3 separate regions of the Homo sapiens genome follow, and all the other regions are linked to region 1. Evidence: promoter capture Hi-C in human tissues and cell types (Jung and others, 2019). All regions are on one chromosome and are shown on one strand. The core of a region is centred on a gene start or on the middle of the fragment in contact, and the rest is flanking DNA. Distances in the headings are between cores, read along the strand shown. Region 1 holds the start of APC2 (APC regulator of Wnt signaling pathway 2). Region 2 overlaps TCF3 (transcription factor 3). Region 3 overlaps TCF3 (transcription factor 3).

Region 1 (3,606 bases), core at 1,107-3,606:
GCCACCCCCAGAGGGATAAGAAGGGAGGTTCAGTGTCACTCCGGAGGCCTGGCTGGCACAGGTGAACTCAGGCAACACGTTCCCTGGCCCAGGCCTCAGTTTCCCCATGTATACAAGGACAGGACTGACCTTGGATCCCCCAAACCCCTGCCTGATGGGGGCCTGGGGAGCTGAGACATCTGAAACTACACAGGGAGGTGGGACTTAGTTCCTCTTTGGGGGAGGCAGGGATCATCCAACCCACCCTTCAGTAAACAAGACTGGAAACCGAGGCCAGAGAGAGACATGCCCAGGGGGACACAGGGACAACAAGGCTGAGCTGAAGCCAGGGCCCTGGGCTCTGCATCCCCAACCCCATTTCAGCCTCGCCCAGCTCTGCCCCGGCTTGACCTGTCAAACCCCACCACGCGCCCTACCCCATGGCTCCACCAGACACCCCCTGTGTCCCAAGCATGCATTGATCTTCCCTCAGCCTGGAACGCCTCTCCTCCTGATCACTGCTGTTCACTTCTCAGGGCAGCCTTCCAGCCTCCAGAAAAAAATCCCCTTCGAGGCGGGCGGATCATGAGGTCAGGAGTTTGAGACCAGCCCGACCAACACGGTGAAACCCCCTCTCTATTAAAAATACAAAAATTAGCTGGCAAGGTGGTACATGCCTGTAATCCCAGTTACTGAGGAGTCTGAGGCAGGAGAATCACTTGAACCCAGGAGGCGGAGGTTGCGGTGAGCCGAGATGGCGCCACTGCACTGCAGCCTGGGGGACAGAGCAAGACCCCATCTAAAAAAAAAAAAAAAAAAAGGCCGGGCGTGGTGGTTCACGCCTGTAATCCCAGCACTTTGGGAGGCCGAGGCGGGTGGATCACGAGGTCAGGAGATCGAGACCATCCTGGCTAACGTGAAATCCCGTCTCTACTAAAAAATACAAAAAATTAGCCTGGGCGTGGTGGCGGGCGCCTGTAGTCCCAGCTACTCGGGAGGCTGAGGCAGGAGAATGGCGTGAACCTGGGAGGCGGAGCTTGCAGTGAGCCGAGAACGTGCCACTGCACTCCAGCCTGGGCTACAGAGCAAGACTCCGTCTCAAAAAAAAAAAAAAGAAAAAAAAGAAAAAGAAAAAAGAAAAGATCCCCTGTGTCTGCCCACTGCATTGCCTCCCCAGACCCAACCAGTGGGGACAGCTGCGTCCAGCTCTGGGGGCTCCCAGACAGCCAGGCCGAAGGGCTCTCAGCCCCTGGCAGTGCTGGCCCGGGACAAGGCCCTCGGGTCTTCAGCTCAAGGCCCAACAGGAAACAGCACGGGTCCTCCCTTGCCTTTGTCTACGGGGCCTTGAATACTCGGACCTTCCCACCCTCTCCTATCATTCCCTGCACCAGCCCTTGCAGAATCTTCCGCCTCCTCTCCATTTTACAGAGGAGGAAACCGAGGGTTGAGCGGCGAATGATTTGCCCTGCCTGCCCAGCACGGAAAAAAATCACTCTTCTGGCCCCAGTCGCCTCCCTTTCTGTGCTGTGAGTCTGTGTCCAGAGCAGGAAGGGCTGCTCCGAGCTGCAGGGACGGGCTCTGTGTGTTAAACCTTCAAATGGCTTCCAGGGACTCATGGAGCATCCAGGACACCTGGAGATGGCGACTCCTGGGACCCCTGGCCCTTCCCTCCTCTGGCCTTCGGTCCGTGAGGGTGAATTAAGTGTGCCACCCACCAGGGGCAGAGACACATGGAGACAGAGATTGAGAGACAGAGAACAGAGGGGGAGACAGAAAGAGAGAGGGACATGAAGAGCAACGGAGTTACAGGAGGATCTGACGCTCCGTTGGGGAGACAGGGAGAAATGTGGGGAGATGCAGCGTCCCAGGTGCTCCCCAGTGGCCCTGCCCCTCCTCCCCTCTCCCCTCCCCACCAGGCAGGACCCTCAGGGAGCTCCAGCCTGGACCCGAACCCTGTCCCACCCTGACGCACCTGCACCAGGCCAGGCTGGACCTGTGGGGTGGGTGCAGGCCTGGCCCCAGCCCGGCCACTGCCCTGGAAACCCCTCCCCCGCCAAGATGCTGATGTAACATCCAGGATTTGATGTTTTACTCTCCAATTCTGCAAATCCAGACGCAGGAGGTTTTAAGAGGCCGTTGCACCCTGCAATAAAGTGCGGGACACAGGAATCTTGGTCCTCGGGGCACCCCCTTCCCTCGGGGGGGTTTCGCCCCCCGCACTCACGGCCCCTGAGCCCGCGCGGAGGCCCGACGCCCCGCGGCCGACGCCGGTCCCCGCCCCGGGCCGCCATTGGCTGTTGCCATGGCACCAGCCCGTCTTCCCGCGCCCTCATTGGCTGTCTCACCCGCATCCCTCATCCCGCATCCTCCCCCGCTCGCGGTGGTCTCGCCCAGCGCTAGGAGCGGCAGCGCCGCCTGCCCAGGCCCGGACCGGGCTTTGTCCGCCCCGGAGCCCCTGCCCGCGCCGCGGAGACCCCGGAGCCCGCGCGCTCCGAGGCCACCCCGGGCCGGGATTTCCGGTGGGGCCCGCGGAGCCGCGCAGAGGGAGGAGGCCCCAGACCCAGGCGCCCCGCCAGCCCAGCTGCACGTAAGCGGGTGTGTGTCCTCGGGGAGGAGGGCAGGGGCGCGACCTCCGCCTCGCGTCGAGGTTTCCATCCCTGGCTCTCAGCATTGCCCGTCAGCACAGACTCTGGACCCTCCATTTCCCCAGAGTGGGAGCTGGAGGGGAAACTGAGTCCCGGTGAGCTGGGCGTCAGCGTTTCTGCAGCCGGTCCTGCGCACACACCCACTCACGGGCTTCACCATCCGGACCTCCCTGAGGTGATCGGAGGAAGGGATGGGCAGGCCAGTGGTGTGTCTTCGGGGGTGTTGCTGCACCTCTCTGGGTGTCAGTTTCCCTCTCTGGAAAGAGGGGGTTTGGATTAAAGGAAGGAGAAAGGCCCCTTTGGGCCTGGCTTCCCATACCTGTGCCTCCCTCCCCTGAAATGCAGCCCGCTCAATAAGACCAGCCCCCAGTCATGGTGCCTTCAGGGAGTGATCGCTCAGGAAGGCCCCCAGGAGGCTACACGATGCAACCTGGGGGTGAAAGTAGGCAGAAGAGCTTCGTGGAAGAAGCTGCACTGTGTGGGATGGCAGGACTTAGAAAAGGTGCTCTAGGCAGGGCAACTGCACGTGCAAAGGCCTGAGAGAAGAGAGCCTCCAGCCTCTAAGTGAGTCGCGGTGTACATGGAGGAGTCGGAGCGTATCCTGAGGGCACTGGGGAGCCATGGAAGGTGTTTGAGCATGGGAGAAATGGGATCTCACTTGTGACGTTTAAAGCTCCCTCTGGCTGTGCATGGGGGACTGTGGGAGGCCAGGAAGAGGCTGATCAGAATGTCCTCACAGAGGGGTGTCAGGAGCTGGGGGAGGCATGATCCCGCTGGGCAGAGCTTGGAGGGACTAGCTTAGTCTGATGAGGATGCAGAAATGACCACCGAATGTGGGGAGAGGGAAGGTGTCTGAGGCTTGGCTTCGGTCAGCTGAGAAGAACCACGTGGGGGAGGCCTGGGTTTGGGGAGCAGGAGGCAGACATGTGTTGCTTTGCACGTCATCTGGTCCTTCCACCTGGCTGGGCATGGGATGGTGACC
Region 2 (3,606 bases), core at 292-2,791, 190 kb after region 1:
CAGCTCCACATCCAACTATCCCTCAAGTACTCACAAAGAAGGACAAAAATAATCCATGTTTCAGCCTCGGCAGAGGAGCTCTGCGTCCTCCAAACAGTAGCTACCGTTTAAGCCAAAGCTGAGTTTTGGCACTGGAGATCTAGAAATCAAGAAAGGACCTCCAACTTGGAACTCAGAAACCTCTGAAGCAACCTGACCTGAAGAGGAAATTAGGAAAAAAAAAAAAAAAAAAAAAAAGGAACAAATGTCAGTAATATGAGAAAAACATGCATTATGGAAACCAATGGGATGGGGTTCACGGGGTGGAACCCTCAACACCACACTGATGGAACAGAAGAGGGCAGAAGTCAGCAAAAGGGGCCTGTGATCTGAAAGTCACCAAAAACTTTAGAAAGAGAAGAAATGCCGATAAAGAGGAAAATTGATCAATTGATCAATATCGATTTGCCAATGAAGCAGATTCTCCAGAAGAAAAATCAACGAGAGAGAGAAAATGCACAGGGCAGCCGAGTCAAGAACAAAGAAACCACCTAAAAGTTGGCGCATTGAGGACCGCGGCGCCCTCAGCCTCCCTGCGCAGGTGGAAAGACAGGCGCCTCCAAACGTTATCAAAGAGCCGAACGGGGCCAGGCGCAGAGGGTCAGGCCTGGAATCCCAGCACTTTTGGCACGGGTGGACAGACAGGCGCCTACAAACATTATCAAACAGCCAAATGAGGCCGGGCTCGGTGGCTCATGCCTGTAATCCCAGCACTTTGGGAGGCCGAGGCGGGAGGATCACCAGGTCAGGAGACCGAGACTGTCCTGGCTAACACGGTGAAACCCTGCCTCTACTAAAAATACAAAAAATTAGCGCAATGGTTACTAAACTCTCTAAGTTTCAGCTTCTTTACCAGTAAAATACGGTAATAATTACACCTATTTCGCTAACCTGTTAGAACTGAGAATTCCCAGTGAATAAGCCAAGCTTTGTGTCCAATGCACAGTGCTCAAGAAACACTGATGTAAGCAGTGGCTCACACCTGTAATCCCAGCACTTCGGGAGGCCGAGGCGGGCGGATCACAAGGTCAGGAGATGGAGACCATCCTGGCTAACAAGGTGAAACCCCGTCTCTACTAAAAATACAAAAACTTAGCCGGCACCTGTAGTCCCAGCTACTAGGGAGGCTAGGCAGGAGAATGGCGTGAACCTGGGAGGCGGAGCTTGCAGTGAGCTGAGATCACGCCACTGCACCCCAGCCTGGGTGACAGAGCATGACTCCGTCTCAAAAAAAAAAAAAAAGTGATGTAAATTGTTGTATTACTGATGTTGTTAAAAAGTTAATGAGGCGGCCAGGCGCGGTGGTTCACGCCTGTAATCCCAGCACTTTGGGAGGCCGAGGTGGGTGGATCACTGGAGGTCAGGAGTTTGAGACCAGCCTGGCCAACGTGGCGAAACCATGTCTCTACTAAAACTACAAAAAATTAGCCAGGCATGGTGGCAGGCACCTATATTCCCAGCTACTCAGGAGGCTGAAGCAGGAGAATCGTTTGAACTCAGGAGGCGGAGGCGGAGGCGGAGGTTGCAGTGAGCTGAGATCGTGCCACTGCACTCCAGCCTGGGCAACAAGAGCAAAACTCGGTCTCAAAAAAAAAAAAAAAGTTAATGAGGCAGCAATAAAAAGAAAAAAAAAAGATACAGCCAACAGCTTGGCTGGATCTCCAGGGAATTATGCTAACGTAACAGAATAAAAGCTAATCTCAGAAGGTTGCAAACTATAGGATTCCATTTACACAAAATACTCAAAGTGAAAAATTGGGCTGGGCACAGTGGCTCACACATGTAATCACAGCACTCTGGGAGGCTGAGGTAAGAGGATCACTTGAGCTCATGAATACAAGATCAGCCTGGAGAACACAGCAAGACCCCATCTAGACAATATTTTTTTATTCTTCAGACACGGTCTCCCTCTGTCCCCGAGGCCAGAGTGCAGTGGCGCAATCTCAGCTAACTGCAACCTCCGCCTCCCAGGTTCAAGTGCTTTTCGTGTCTCAGCCTCCCGAGTAGCTGGGATGACAGGCACGCACCACCACGCCCAGCTAATTTTTGTATTTTTAGCAGAGACGGGGTTTCGCCACGTTGACTAGGCTGGTCTTGAACTCCTGGCCTCATGTGATCCACACACCCTGGCTTCCCAAAATGCTGGGATTATAGGTGTGAGCCACCGCACCCAGCTGAAATTTTTCTTTTTTTTTAAACAGAGACAGGGTTTCTCCATGTTGCCCAGGCTGGTCTTGAACTCCTGGGCTCCGGCAATTCTCCCATCTCAACCTCCCAAAGTGCTGGGGATTACCAGTGTGAGCCGCTGACCCAGCCCTCTACAAAATACATATTTTTTTAATTAGGTGGTCGCAGCTGCTCACAAGGCTGAGGTGGGAGGATCAGTTGAGCCCAGAACTTCAAGGCTACAGTCAGTTATGATCACACCACTGCACTCCAGTCTGGACAACAGAGTGAGACCTGGTCCCTAAAAAAAAAAAATCGTACAGATGAAGAACAGATTGGTGATTCCTGGGCTTAAAGAAGGTGCATGTCTCAAAACTGCACAGAACTACACACACACACACACACACACACACACACACACACGCACGCGTACACACACGCACGCAGACACAGACGCAGACACGCACACACGCGCAGACGCACAGACACGCACGCGCAGACGCACACACACGTGCGCACACACGCACGCACACGCACAGACGCGCACACGCACAGACACACACCCGCACGCACACACAGACACACACACGTGCGTGTAAAGCCGGTGGAATCTGATCAGGATCTGTGGACGGCACCAATGTCGGCTTCCTAGGTCTGACGCAGCACCACGGGTGGGCGGGACGGTACCCCTGGGGGTGGCTAGGTGAGAGGAGAACACTCTGCCACTTCCTGTGAATCCCGAAAGACTTCAGAATAAAAAGTGGATCAACTTCAAGGACGAGGGCCCAAGAGAGTAACAGAAAATTCACCAGAGAGCCATTCACAGGGTCAATCCCCTTCCGAGAAGACCACCGCCCTCTATTAAACAAGTGGCAGGTGAAAGGACACGATCTTTGTCACCTATTAAATGAGACAGGCCGTGCTGTCACCACGTTGGCCAGGCTGGTCTCGAACACCTAGTCCCAGGTACTCCTCTTGCCTTGGCCTCCCAAGTGCTGGGATTACAGGCCTGAGCCACCGCGCCCGGTCACAAGGGACGCTTTCAATGTGAAAAAGCATCCAGGGACCCAGCAATTCCACTCCCAGACACGCACCCGGAGGAAATGACCCATGCGCCAGGTTCTCCCGGGGTTTCCTCTTAAAGCAGAACGCGGAGGTGCCGTTCTGTGGATTTTCACTCTGACCGTGTGTCACACTTACAATCGCACGGACAGAGAAAGCGACGGGGAAATGAAAAATAGGAAAGAACTTTCCTTTGGTCCGTCAATAAGCAATTTCCTGGTGTCTCCCGTGGCCTCAGAGCCTGTCTGTCTTGGCAGAAGATAGGCTGTCACTCAGAGACCTGTGCCTGAGGGTTTCCAAAAATGGGAGGCGGTGGGTGGGAGAAGGCGTACGAAAATT
Region 3 (3,606 bases), core at 249-2,748, 170 kb after region 1:
GAACACTCTTCTTTTTTGGTGAAAGTAAACTGTTTCAATCATTAACTTAAAAATATGGAACACTTCGGATGGGCACAGTGGCTCACACCAGCTCACACCTGTAATGCCAGCATTTTGGGAGGCCGAGGTGGGTGGATCACGAGGTCAGGAGATCAAGACCATCCTGGCTAACATGGTGAAACCCCATCTCTACTAAAAATACAAAAAATTAGCCAGCTGTGGTGGTGGGTACCTGTAATCCCAGCTACTTGGGAGGCTGAGGCAGGAGAATCACTTGAACCCAGGAGGCGGAGGTTGCAGTGAGCCAAGATTGCGCCACTGTACTCCAGCCTGGGTGACAAAGCAAGACTCCGTCTCAAAAAAAAAAAAAAGAATAAAACTTTGGAACACTTCAGGAATGTCCACGTCACCCTTGTGCAGATGCTATGCTAATCTTTATCATTCTCATTTTAGTCCAAGAGCTGTCCAAGCAAGTGCTCAAAGCGCTGCTTTTGAAAGAACACAGGCCGGGCACAGTGGCTGACTCACGCCTGTGATCCCAGCACTTTGGGAGGCTGAGGTGGAAGGGTCACTTGAGGCCAGGGGGTCATGGCTACCGTGAGCTGTGATCATGCCCCTGCACTCTGGTGTGACAGGGTGAGACCCTGTCTCAAAACAAAACAAGTAAAAAAGAAAAAACAAAAATCAGTAAGCTGGACTATATCAGAATTGAGAGTTCCTGATCAGCAAAGATACCAGGAAAAGAAAAGCATTTGCCAAAGAATAGAAGACACCCACCACAGATGTAGCCAACCAGGAGGTGATCTCCCACAATCAATGGGAAAGGACAAAAAGAAAGTAACTCAGTAGAAAAATAAGCAAGGTATCCAAAAAGGCATCTCACAGACAAGGAAACCACATGGCTAGAAACACGTGGAAGTCCGCTTCAGCACATCAAGAGATTAAGGAAATGCAAATTAGGGTGGCTTTGCGCTACCCTTTCATACCCAGTCAGCTAGCAAAGTTGAGGGACCTGAACAGTCAAAATCTTGCCTGTGGGAGGGCAACTTGGCTGCTTTGGAAAATAATTCATCAGCCTTTCCTCTGAATTGACAACAGGTGTATCACACCCTTGATCAGCAGGTTGGCAGGAAAGCGTGATGTTGGAATGACCTACAGCCCCACGCCCGGGCCAGGGCCAACGGCACACTCACAATGGGACCCCAGCCGCTCACACCACACATGTACCCCACACACAACATAAGCCAGCAAACCAGCGTGTAAAGAACACGCTAGTGGGACGCCGTGTTCATGAAGCTCAAGAACAATAATTGCAAAACATGTGGCTTAAGGGTACACAGTGCCCCAAATGAATGCGGCCACTCTGCATTCAGCAGGGCCTGGGCCACCCCCAAAACCCGGGCTTGGGGAGTCCAGGAATCAGTCAGGGCTCACATGGAGCAAACCAGCTGCCATCCCCTGAGACCCCCGTACCCTGAGGGGGAGCCTCAGAAATGCACCCGCTCCCCACAGTGAACTCTGCTCCAATCGGCCAACGCCAGCCACCAGGACCAGCCCAGGCCTCAGCACACGAAGTGAAGGACAGGAAGGAAACAGAGGGGAGCCTATGGGTGAAAGACTAAGCTTGGGGCTGCCCCTGGAAACTGCTGACCTGTGGGTCCGGACCCTTCTCTGGGGTGGGGCCGTCCTGGGCACTGCAGGGTGCTGAGCAGCATCCCTGGCCCCCACCCACTCCATGCCAGGAGCTCCCCTCAGCCCTGACAACTGTAGATGTCCCCAGACATCACCCAGTGTCCCCTGGGGGCAGAGCCGCTGCGGTGAGATGCCCTGGCCTAGGAGTGATAGAATCAAGGTACTTGGAAAGTCTGCCTGGAAAGCAGGCAGGATTCCTGGGCTGGTGGAAGGCACAGGGCCAGGACAGCGCCCACAATGACCCCACCTTCTCCTGGGCCTCTCATGGGTGTCTGAGACACTCAACAATCCCCAGGCCCAGGTCCAGATTTGTCCCCAACCTTTTCCTTTGTCCCCTTCCTTACGGAGTTCCCAGCCCCAGTGTCACCCACAGCTCGGGCCAGAAATCCCAGAGCCACCCTGCCTTCTCTCACCCTCAAGTCCTGTCCATCACAAATCCTGTGGGCCCCGCCTTCAGGAGATGCAGGGCCCACCCACTGCTCACCCCTCCAAGGCCCCTGGACCAGCCCTGTGGCCTCTGCCTTGGTCTCCCGGTGCCACTCATAGTCTGTCCTCCAAGCAGCCACCAGAGGGTATCTGTGAGCACCTGGGTCAGGTCCCATCCCTCCTCAGCCCTCCACGGCTGCCACCTTTCTCATGGCCAAATCCCAAGTCCTCCCCGCAGCCCACAAGGCCCCGCATGACCTGCCCTGCCCCGCCCTCCCCCCTTCCCTCTCTCCCTCTCCTCACTCTGCTCCAACCCCACGGGTCTCCTGGCTGTTCCTCCCAGGTGCAGTCCAGCCCCAGGGCCTTTGCCTGGGCTGCGCCCTCTGCCTGAAACCCTCCTCCTCCAGGTACTTGCCTACTCTTGCCTCCTCCCAGATGCTGCCCAAACACCACCTTGTGGCCTCATGGGCCACCATCTTCAAAGCCATACAAAACCCCCAACCCACCGCAGCCACTTCGTTCCTTCTCCCTGGCACCTGTACTGTGCAGCGAGCTCCTGGTCTGTCTCCCCTGAGGCAGAGGCATCCTGCTGCACCCCTCGCCCCTTCCCCAGTGCTGAGCGCTGCCAGGCACACAGCGTCTGGGAGCAGGCGAATGAAGAGGCAGCCCAGAGCTGTCCACCTCACACGCCCAGGGCCAACGCCGGCCCCGCCGGTCTTACCCACCCTCCTGAAGTTGCTGACTGGGGCGCCCATGTCACCAGGTGCCCCCACGGTGACACCTGCCCTGGGCTCCCACCCTGACCCCCACCACTAGAGTGCCTCAGTTTCCCCAACTGGAACCAGGAGTCGGACAGTCCCAAGCTCAAGGGCTTACCACTGTAGGAGTCGGGAGGCCGAGACAGGTCAGGGAGGGTGCCTGGCTGGCTGGGGAGGGCCGCGTGGTTGTGCATGAGGCTGGTGCTGCCTGCGAGGCCGTCCTCGGGGTGGCTGCCTCCAACCTGCAGGCGTGGGGAGACGGGTGCATCAGGGGGAGCCGGGTCCCCGCCCACTGCCCAGCTCCACCCTCGCCCAGCGCTCACCAGGCCTGCGTGCCGCCCGCCCAGTGACATGGGGCCGGTGAAACCTGAGGCCAGCGCCCCGTGGCCAGGCAGCAGCGTGTGCATGTCGCCGGCTGTGCCCACGGCGTGGCTGCGGAGCACGTGGATGGCCTCGTCCAGGTGGTCTTCTATCTTACTCTGCTGCAGGGTGGGGGGATGGGTGGTGAGGGGCCCAAGCCGAGGGACCCCACAGGCCTCCATTCATGTCCCTTCCGCATGCAAGTGGCCGGTGGTCCCATCTTCCCCTTCCCCAGGAAGCTGCATATGCCAGGCATCTGGCGCCCGGGAGCACACACAAAATGTGTGTGCCTTGGCGGCCACGAGGCCTCAATAACAGCTTGGGGCTTATTTACAAGAAACTAACAAAAAGGTTTCTCCTTCTCAAGGAG

What was found. Contacts are between HindIII fragments. The study calls those that stand out against the background at their distance.
Region 2: a contact is called between a fragment that was not itself captured here and the fragment with the promoter of APC2 in region 1, in 1 of the 25 tissues and cell types used here (spleen).
Region 3: a contact is called between a fragment that was not itself captured here and the fragment with the promoter of APC2 in region 1, in 1 of the 25 tissues and cell types used here (H1 embryonic stem cells).

What each region holds. Positions count from the first base shown.
Region 1 is chr19:1,447,765-1,451,370 of GRCh38, forward strand. It overlaps APC2 (APC regulator of Wnt signaling pathway 2), which reads left to right and starts at 2,357. Exons shown (of 15, transcript NM_005883.3): 1 at 2,357-2,574. RefSeq lists a silencer at 2,204-2,403. The HindIII fragment of the contact is 30,284 bases long and covers 1-3,606 here.
Region 2 is chr19:1,639,538-1,643,143 of GRCh38, forward strand. The region is part of intron 3 of TCF3 (transcription factor 3); the gene reads right to left. Among named protein-coding and RNA genes, the nearest start is that of TCF3, 11 kb to the right of the region's middle. The HindIII fragment of the contact is 9,192 bases long and covers 1-3,606 here.
Region 3 is chr19:1,616,117-1,619,722 of GRCh38, forward strand. TCF3 (transcription factor 3) reads right to left here. Exons shown (of 19, transcript NM_003200.5): 15 at 3,200-3,358; 16 at 2,995-3,118. It also overlaps the pseudogene RNU6-1223P. Among named protein-coding and RNA genes, the nearest start is that of UQCR11, 12 kb to the left of the region's middle. The HindIII fragment of the contact is 6,389 bases long and covers 1-3,606 here.